Regions from separate parts of the Homo sapiens genome. Here all the other regions are linked to region 1. Evidence: promoter capture Hi-C in 16 types of primary human blood cells and fetal thymus (Javierre and others, 2016). All regions are on one chromosome and are shown on one strand. Each heading gives the region's core, a stretch centred on a gene start or on the middle of the fragment in contact. The rest is flanking DNA. Distances are from core to core; before and after follow the strand shown.

The links. Contacts are between HindIII fragments. The CHiCAGO score rates a contact against its expected background, and 5 or more counts as called.
Region 2: a contact is called between the fragment with the promoter of HOXA1 here and the fragment with the promoter of SNX10 in region 1, in 8 of 17 cell types (neutrophils, M2 macrophages, M0 macrophages and 5 more). The highest score is 19.8, in neutrophils.
Region 3: a contact is called between a fragment that was not itself captured here and the fragment with the promoter of SNX10 in region 1, in 2 of 17 cell types (activated CD4 T cells and total B cells). The highest score is 5.8, in activated CD4 T cells.

What each region holds. Positions count from the first base shown.
Region 1 is chr7:26,290,522-26,293,245 of GRCh38, reverse strand. It overlaps SNX10 (sorting nexin 10), which reads right to left and starts at 1,384. Exons shown (of 7, transcript NM_013322.3): 1 at 1,160-1,384. RefSeq lists silencers at 891-970, 1,121-1,360. The HindIII fragment of the contact is 4,940 bases long and covers 1-1,555 here.
Region 2 is chr7:27,094,624-27,097,340 of GRCh38, reverse strand. HOXA1 (homeobox A1) reads left to right here and starts at 1,341. Exons shown (of 2, transcript NM_005522.5): 1 at 1,341-2,080; 2 at 2,546-2,717. The coding sequence starts at 1,429. HOTAIRM1 (HOXA transcript antisense RNA, myeloid-specific 1) reads right to left here and starts at 1,247. Exons shown (of 2, transcript NR_038367.1): 1 at 953-1,247. RefSeq lists enhancers at 379-951, 1,077-1,371, 2,253-2,717 and a silencer at 855-1,024. The HindIII fragment of the contact is 6,567 bases long and covers 1-2,717 here.
Region 3 is chr7:27,160,417-27,163,472 of GRCh38, reverse strand. It overlaps HOXA10-HOXA9 (HOXA10-HOXA9 readthrough), which reads left to right. Exons shown (of 3, transcript NM_001433944.1): 3 at 1-1,035. It overlaps HOXA9 (homeobox A9), which reads left to right. Exons shown (of 2, transcript NM_152739.4): 2 at 1-1,035. Among named protein-coding and RNA genes, the nearest start is that of HOXA9, 3.6 kb to the left of the region's middle. RefSeq lists enhancers at 912-1,411, 2,286-2,971. The HindIII fragment of the contact is 1,178 bases long and covers 708-1,885 here.

The DNA.
Region 1 (2,724 bases), core at 135-2,634:
CTGGGTGACAGAATAATACCTTGTCTCAAAAGAAAAAGAAAAAAGTAAATAATATTAAGAATAATGAAGGTCCAGCTATGTACCTACCTTAGGAATAGGCATCACTGGAAGTGATGGCAGAGGCAAGGCAGGAGTCCCTGACCTCACCTCCATTCTCTCACTGAGGAGCCCCTGCAGAAGCTGGTCAACTATCCAAGCAGTCCCTGCTTCTTCCTGGCGAAGGCCTCAGCCTCCAGCCCAGCCCCCTCCTGGGAGAGGAGGGGGAGCTTATGCAATCCAAACCCAGTTCCCAGGCCCCAGAGGTGGACATAACTCCGGGGTGGAAGTCAGAAGCCTGCCAGGTTGTAGGCCTGGTTCTGCTCCCATCTGGCTGAATGATCCTGGTCCCAACACTCAGCGTCCCTCGGCCTTAGCCTCCCTGTCTGTAAAATGAAAGGTTTGATGGAGATCATGTGCAAGCCTCCTCCCCGTTCTAATTTTCTGATACCATCATTTTTAACGTGTCTTGTAGAGATAGAAGCCCTTCCTTTCAGCAGGACATGTTGCTCCCCATTCCGTGACGATCCCCCTCAATAATCCGTGTAATTTGAGAAAAGTATGATGCATCGGAACTGAAAAACAGGCTGTTGCTTTCCTGGTCACCAAATCTGATAATCAGTCAATTATATGGATTTTCCCCTGGGCCTTCTCCCTCAATCCCACAATCCCACGAATAAACCTGCCTACCCCTCCCAATTCCTCAACTCAAGGCTACCCGTTAATGAATGAATAAAAAAATAAATAAATAAATTTTAAAAACCACCTCCCCACCCCCTTCTACCCGGCCTGGTGTAAGGTGCCACAGCACTTCTTCCGTAATCTAGAATCCACCTCTGCCCCACCCTCTCCCCGGGGTGTCTTTTTAGCCAAGAATCCCTGGATCGACGCGCTCCATCTCCCCGCTCTACCGCGCTGATCATTTCTCCCTGCCCGGCACACCTCGGCTGAAAAGGAGGCGGCTCCTCTGCTCCAAGCCCAAGGGACCCAAACCTCTTTCCAGCCCGCAAGGGTGCGGGCACCTGGGAACAGCGGGAAGGGCCCGCGCCTCTGGAAAGAAGGGCCGCCGTCCCCACCTGGGCGGTGCAGGGGAGGCCCCCTCAGCGGGTCTCTTGTCACTTACGGGCGGCTCCTCCGGGCAGAACAGAGCAGGGCCGGGCCGAGCCGGGCTTGCGGGCCGCGGAGTTTGCTGACTCAAAGGCGCGCGGCGGCAGCGGCGGCGGCGAGCGCCCAGGAGCGCACACGAGCGCAGCCCCGCGCTCCCCGCGCTCCCCGCGCTCCCCGCGCACGTAGCGGCCCCGCGCCCGCGCTCAGCGCCAGCCGTCCGCCTGTGGGCGCCGCGCCTAGTGCTTCCGCCGCCTCCGCGCAGCCCAGCCCAGGTGCGCCCCCACCCTGCAGAGCTAGCCTCCTGCTTCCTGAAATTGAGTTAGGGAGGAAATGCCCCCATTAGTCCGGACGTTGAGGCTGGAGGTGCTCCAGCGGCACCCTTCGGAATTCGCCACCTGAGTCACCTTAAGCTTCCTAACCCTGACCCCACAGTTATGGGGAGGATTGCCGATGGGGAGGAGGACGGATAAATAACGTGATAAACAAGAATGGCAGAATGTTCATAGCATCTAGGTGGTGGGCTATGGTGTTTATATAAAATTATTTCAGTTTTTGTCTATGTTTGAAATGTCTCAATAAAACATTTGGGGGGAAAGCTAATGAGATCTGCCAAGGGACCTGACTGAGGAAAGCATTTCCCAAATGGCACCTGAGGCTGGGTCCCCACACCTGTTTGCATGGGAAACCACAATCATCACTTAAACTGCTAATAAGTGACTGAATGACACAGAATAATAAGCATAGCCTAATATTTCATTTTTCAAGCATGAATTTTCCCATTAGATACAGCTTGTCGCTGATCATCCTCCAGGGACCATTCCAGGCCCACCTGAAAACGCATCTGTTCACCACACCTACATTAACTCCCTAACAAAACGTATAAATATACAATGTTGTGTCTTAACATCTTGGATCTTGAAGTTGTATTGCTGAACCCTCAATCACTGGTATTTAATTTCCTAAAATTGCACCCAAGTCATGACACACAAGTGAATGCAACCATGATCACTTTTGAAAATCAAATTAAGCTGGTGTGGTGGCTCACGCTTGTAATCCCAGCACTCTGGGAGGCCGAGGCGGGTGGATTACAAGGTCAGGAGATGGAGACCATCCTGGCTGACATGGTGAAATGCCGTCTCTACTAAAAATACAAAAACTTAGCTGGGCGTGGTGGCGCGCGCCTGTAATCCCAGCTACTCGGGAGGCTGAGGCAGGAGAATAGCTTGAACCCGGGAGGCAGAGGTTGCAGTGAGCCGAGATCATGCCATTGCACTCCAGCCTGGGCGACAGAGCAAGATTCTGTCTCAAAAAAAAAAGAAAGAAAATCAAATTAAAGTGTATTTTTTATATTCTTGTCCCTATGCTCCGCAAAGAAAAACATTGAGTAGAAAACAAAATGCAGCATGTATCTAAGATCCTAAGAGATTCTGTAAAATTAAAATCTTTCTGAACTTATTGTCAAGAGCATGACTTTACAGCTGTAGACAAAGCAGCAACAAACCCTTGGAGAGTCTACTGAAAGTCATTTGAATATCTGTTAGAATTTTGACCCTATTAAGACTGGTAACTTGGGCCGGGCGC
Region 2 (2,717 bases), core at 92-2,591, 800 kb before region 1:
AGCCAGTTGGAAAGGGGAGGAGGTGTCGTTGGGGTAAAGTGTCCCGTCCACCATCAGCCATTTGTCCACCGCCCCTCCCACCTGCCAGCCCCCACACCCACTCTAGACGTGCAGCAGAATGAGGAAGGTTATAAAAGGAAGCTCTCTCTCTCTTCTAACATTCCCCTCCAGAAAAAGAGGAACGCAACGAAGGGAGTTCAGCTACTATGTTGGAGCTGTGGACCGGCCCTGTGAGGCCCACGCGGGAGCGCGGAGGCTCCTGGGTCTCAGGGCGCCGGCAGATGGCCTGCAGCGCACCGCCCGGCCCCCGCGCTGGCCACGTCCGCCAGCGTCATCTCTCTCCCCCGCCTCCTACCCCTAAAAATCCGGCGGTCGAGTAGCTCCGCATCCCGGAGGGCTCCCGGTGCAAAACTGAGTGGGAAAGAGAAAGGGGCGGAGAGCGACGAGAGAGGGAAGGTGGGGAAGAAGAGCCCGGCCGCCCCCGGCCTTTTCCGGCGAGCTCTGAGTTTCCAGGGCTCATCCGCCCCTCCAAGTCGAATTACAGAAACTCCTCATTGCCATGCTAATGACGAGAGGGGCTGTGGGGAGAGGGTTTCGAAGACCCTCCTGGAAGAAGGGAAGTTTCTTTTCTTGCCCTCGTCTCCTTCACGCCCACCCGAGTTCCTCCCAGCCAGCCCTCTGCGCTCTTCCCCCTCCATTCCGAGCTTGAAGAGCCGGTGGCCCAGCCTCGCCCTCCACCACGGTTCTATGCGCTCCTCACAGCCCCACGGTCTCCCAGCCCAGCCTCAGAACAGAGGAGGTGGCCTGGGAACCCGGGGCGCGGTGTCAGCCGGATTCCCCGCCTTCCGGCTGGGCGCGCTGCGGGCTGGGCCGGCGTACTTGCGGCCACCCGGCGAGCTCTGGCCCACTGATTCCCGCCCCGAGAGAGCCGGGAGCCCTCTTCCCTTCTCACCTCTCGCCAGTTCATCTTTCATTGAACGGTGGGGAGGGGGCGGGAGCGGGGGACGCCTCCCAGCCCCCACCTCCCGGAGGCCTGGCGGGGCGGGCAGCGGAGTCGGGCGCGCGCAGAACGCAGCTTTTGCTCTTCTTCGCTCCAGCACTCCAAATCGGCCTTTGCAGTCGCCGCAGCAGCTGCCGCCGCCTAGGCTGCCTGGGGGGGCGACTGCGCGTCACCTAGACGGCGGAGCGCCGGGGATTTAAATGCCACTAAAACGGTGATCCATCACTGCGGAAGCCGGCAAACTTTTGCAGGAGGCTCAGCCATTGGCTGACACCGTCACGTGCCCCTCCTCCAGCGTCCTCCGCCCTCCCGCCCCCCCTCTTGCGCACTGTACATTCATATCATTTTTCTTCTCCGGCCCCATGGAGGAAGTGAGAAAGTTGGCACAGTCACGCCGGGCTTCGCAGGACCAGGTCACTCAGTGACAGATGGACAATGCAAGAATGAACTCCTTCCTGGAATACCCCATACTTAGCAGTGGCGACTCGGGGACCTGCTCAGCCCGAGCCTACCCCTCGGACCATAGGATTACAACTTTCCAGTCGTGCGCGGTCAGCGCCAACAGTTGCGGCGGCGACGACCGCTTCCTAGTGGGCAGGGGGGTGCAGATCGGTTCGCCCCACCACCACCACCACCACCACCATCGCCACCCCCAGCCGGCTACCTACCAGACTTCCGGGAACCTGGGGGTGTCCTACTCCCACTCAAGTTGTGGTCCAAGCTATGGCTCACAGAACTTCAGTGCGCCTTACAGCCCCTACGCGTTAAATCAGGAAGCAGACGTAAGTGGTGGGTACCCCCAGTGCGCTCCCGCTGTTTACTCTGGAAATCTCTCATCTCCCATGGTCCAGCATCACCACCACCACCAGGGTTATGCTGGGGGCGCGGTGGGCTCGCCTCAATACATTCACCACTCATATGGACAGGAGCACCAGAGCCTGGCCCTGGCTACGTATAATAACTCCTTGTCCCCTCTCCACGCCAGCCACCAAGAAGCCTGTCGCTCCCCCGCATCGGAGACATCTTCTCCAGCGCAGACTTTTGACTGGATGAAAGTCAAAAGAAACCCTCCCAAAACAGGTCAGTCCTGCTGGTTGGTGGATGCTCCTTGATTATTCTGGAAGGAGCTGGTATGCTTAATTTCCAAGGAAATTAATAATGATCTTTTTTTTAAAAGGCTTTTGTATCAGACTAGTGTTGTAGTGCATGGAGAGGGTGCCCAGAGGTGTTGGGGCAAAGAAGTCTCAGGGATTGGTGTGTTTTCAAGGATTTTATACATTTGGGAAATAGGAAGTATGTGGGGGTGGTTATTGTGACGGTAGTGTTCTGTTAATATCTTGAGGCTCCATTAATCACCGGTCTGACCATGCTAATGGTTTACATCAGGTTAACACTTTACACCTCATCACTCACCCTCCACAGCCCGATTTGTGCTGAGTTCTTGATCTTTTCTTTACCTGAGTGTTGCCATGAAGCGTGTGGGGAATCTCAAGTCGATTTAAAAATTTTTACATTTCCGTCTCATGGCTTCCCACTTTGCCCCAGGGAAAGTTGGAGAGTACGGCTACCTGGGTCAACCCAACGCGGTGCGCACCAACTTCACTACCAAGCAGCTCACGGAACTGGAGAAGGAGTTCCACTTCAACAAGTACCTGACGCGCGCCCGCAGGGTGGAGATCGCTGCATCCCTGCAGCTCAACGAGACCCAAGTGAAGAT
Region 3 (3,056 bases), core at 47-2,546, 870 kb before region 1:
AACCTCAGGCCACATCTTTTCCAAGGCAAACCCTGTTCAGGCTGGCTCGTAGGCCTGCCGCTTTGATGGAGGAGGTATTGTAAGCTTTCCATTTTCTATAAGAAAAAGGAAAAGTTGAGGGGGGGGCATTAGTGCTGATAGCTGTGTGTGTTAGCTTGTATATATATTTTTAAAAATCTACCTGTTCCTGACTTAAAACAAAAGGAAAGAAACTACCTTTTTATAATGCACAACTGTTGATGGTAGGCTGTATAGTTTTTAGTCTGTGTAGTTAATTTAATTTGCAGTTTGTGCGGCAGATTGCTCTGCCAAGATACTTGAACACTGTGTTTTATTGTGGTAATTATGTTTTGTGATTCAAACTTCTGTGTACTGGGTGATGCACCCATTGTGATTGTGGAAGATAGAATTCAATTTGAACTCAGGTTGTTTATGAGGGGAAAAAAACAGTTGCATAGAGTATAGCTCTGTAGTGGAATATGTCTTCTGTATAACTAGGCTGTTAACCTATGATTGTAAAGTAGCTGTAAGAATTTCCCAGTGAAATAAAAAAAAATTTTAAGTGTTCTCGGGGATGCATAGATTCATCATTTTCTCCACCTTAAAAATGCGGGCATTTAAGTCTGTCCATTATCTATATAGTCCTGTCTTGTCTATTGTATATATAATCTATATGATTAAAGAAAATATGCATAATCAGACAAGCTTGAATATTGTTTTTGCACCAGACGAACAGTGAGGAAATTCGGAGCTATACATATGTGCAGAAGGTTACTACCTAGGGTTTATGCTTAATTTTAATTGGAGGAAATGAATGCTGATTGTAACGGAGTTAATTTTATTGATAATAAATTATACACTATGAAACCGCCATTGGGCTACTGTAGATTTGTATCCTTGATGAATCTGGGGTTTCCATCAGACTGAACTTACACTGTATATTTTGCAATAGTTACCTCAAGGCCTACTGACCAAATTGTTGTGTTGAGATGATATTTAACTTTTTGCCAAATAAAATATATTGATTCTTTTCTATTTTTTGCGGGTCTGCTCTTTGCACCTTCTTCTCTGGGTCAGGGGAGCCTATGTAGAGTCTCTGGGTAGGGGCGGGTTGGGGTGGTGAGAAAGAGCCCCAATTTTGCCTCTGGCTGGCTTTCAGGAGCGGGACCTGCCACAACCAGTCCGCCGAGCTAAGCTCTCCCAAACAGGCCAGCTGCCTGGCGGCGAGAAAAAGCTGGGAAACCCGGCGGAGGAGCCAGGCTCCCGGCCTTGTGTCTATGTGCGGGACGGCGGAGAAGCCCCTGAGGAGCTGGTCTGGTCTGGCCAGTAGCAGTGGAAAGACCACTCTCACCTTGGTGCCCCCGAGAAAATTCCCAAACCTGGGCCTTCGTTAGCTTGGTGAGGAAAAGGGGGAGAGGGTGACAGGATAGAGAGCTGGGAGCCGCCTTCTAAGCAGGCTCTGAAGAGGGAAATAGGAGCCCCACCGGCCCAACGTGGCCATGCAGGCAAACATTTTGGGGGCTTGCAAAGGAACAAAGCCCTGCATCCTCGCACCGCCCGCCACCCCCGCGGAGTCCTGCCAGCCTGGCCCAAGAGAATCTGGGTCCTGCACTGCAAGCACCTCTCGAGCACAAGGCCTAACAGAGGCAGGGCTGAGGCAATTGACGAGCCCCTAAGCGCCATAAAAGAAAATGAGGGCTGTTACCGTTTATGGGGTGTAAAGGGCTACGAGGGGCGGGGGGGGGGGAACGGCCACAACTTCGGAGGCCTGAGCGCTTTCCAGATGTGGCCGGAGGGTTCGGCCTCGCTTCCACCCCCTTGCTTCCCTCGCCCGACCCCCTTCCCCCACTCCACGACTTCTGCAAAGTTGGATGTGTTCTAAGCTTAAAAGGGGAACCAGGGCGCGGGTGGATGAGGCGTCCCCTAACCCCCACCCCCACCCCGCCGCCAGGTTGGGACGCCCTCTGTTGTTGCAGACAGAAGGAACTTCAAAGAATAGGCAGTAAGAGTGTGCCATAAAGGCCGGGTCTGCGAACTGTCTGGAATTCGTCCCTTAATGAGTTTACAACTGTCCAGCCCCAATTAGGATATTCCACCAAAGCCCTTTCATTTGTTCATTTGTTCTGTCTGCCGCCGATAAAGCGGCTGCGGAAACACCTCTTTTATTGGCATTGCCTCCTCTGCAGTAGATTCCGGGCTCCACGCAGACTCCCCGGGACCTAGGCCCACGCCCCTCGTTTGGGAGTGGGGTGCGGTGGGCTAGCCGGCGGCTCCCAAAGCTCAGGCCGGCGGAGGTAGCTGAGGCTGCAGTACCAAACGGCGGCCAGCAGATGGCAGTGTGGCTCCATGCAAGAGGCTTCCGCGCCGCCATCTCCCGCCTCCGCGACCCTTGTGAAGTTCCTAAGATGTCGACTTGACACGAGCCTTTCTGGAATGGGAGCCCCAGATTTTAGTGAACAGCCGCCCTATATTTTCTGGGCTGCTCAAGCCTGGCTAGAAGCCTCGCTGGGAAACAAGGAATCGGCGGGGGCTTGCCCGACCCTCACCGCTCGCGCCTCCCTGACCCCATCCCGGGGGCCCAGTGCTGCCGGGCTGCAGCTGTCCGGGCGGCCGCGGGGCTGCAGCTCCAGGCGCGGGCGCGGCTCCAGGGTCACCGTCCTCAGCTGGGACAGGCCTGACACAGCCAGGCGCCAGAGAGCCCCGGCTGACTGGCGGACACAGGAGGAACGCCTGCAGCCCCAGAACTTGATGACCGCCCAGAGGGTGTGCACGGTGCGTGCCGAGGGCTCACACCGTGACCGCGGGGTCCGCGGCCGCCCAGGAGGCCCCCGAAACCTGCGACCTGGGTCAGGGCCCGGCGAGCCAGAACCCAAGACAGAGCCAGGACCCCGGGACTCGGCTGGCTTGAATCGAGACAATAAAATTAGGCGGTGAAAATTGGGCGTAAAGGCAATCTCGGTGTCTGACCACTGTAGGTATAGGGGCCGGGCCGAGTTGGCTGGGAGGAGAATCCTGGGGGACAAACCAGGGACTGCTTTGGTTATTTTTTTAATGTG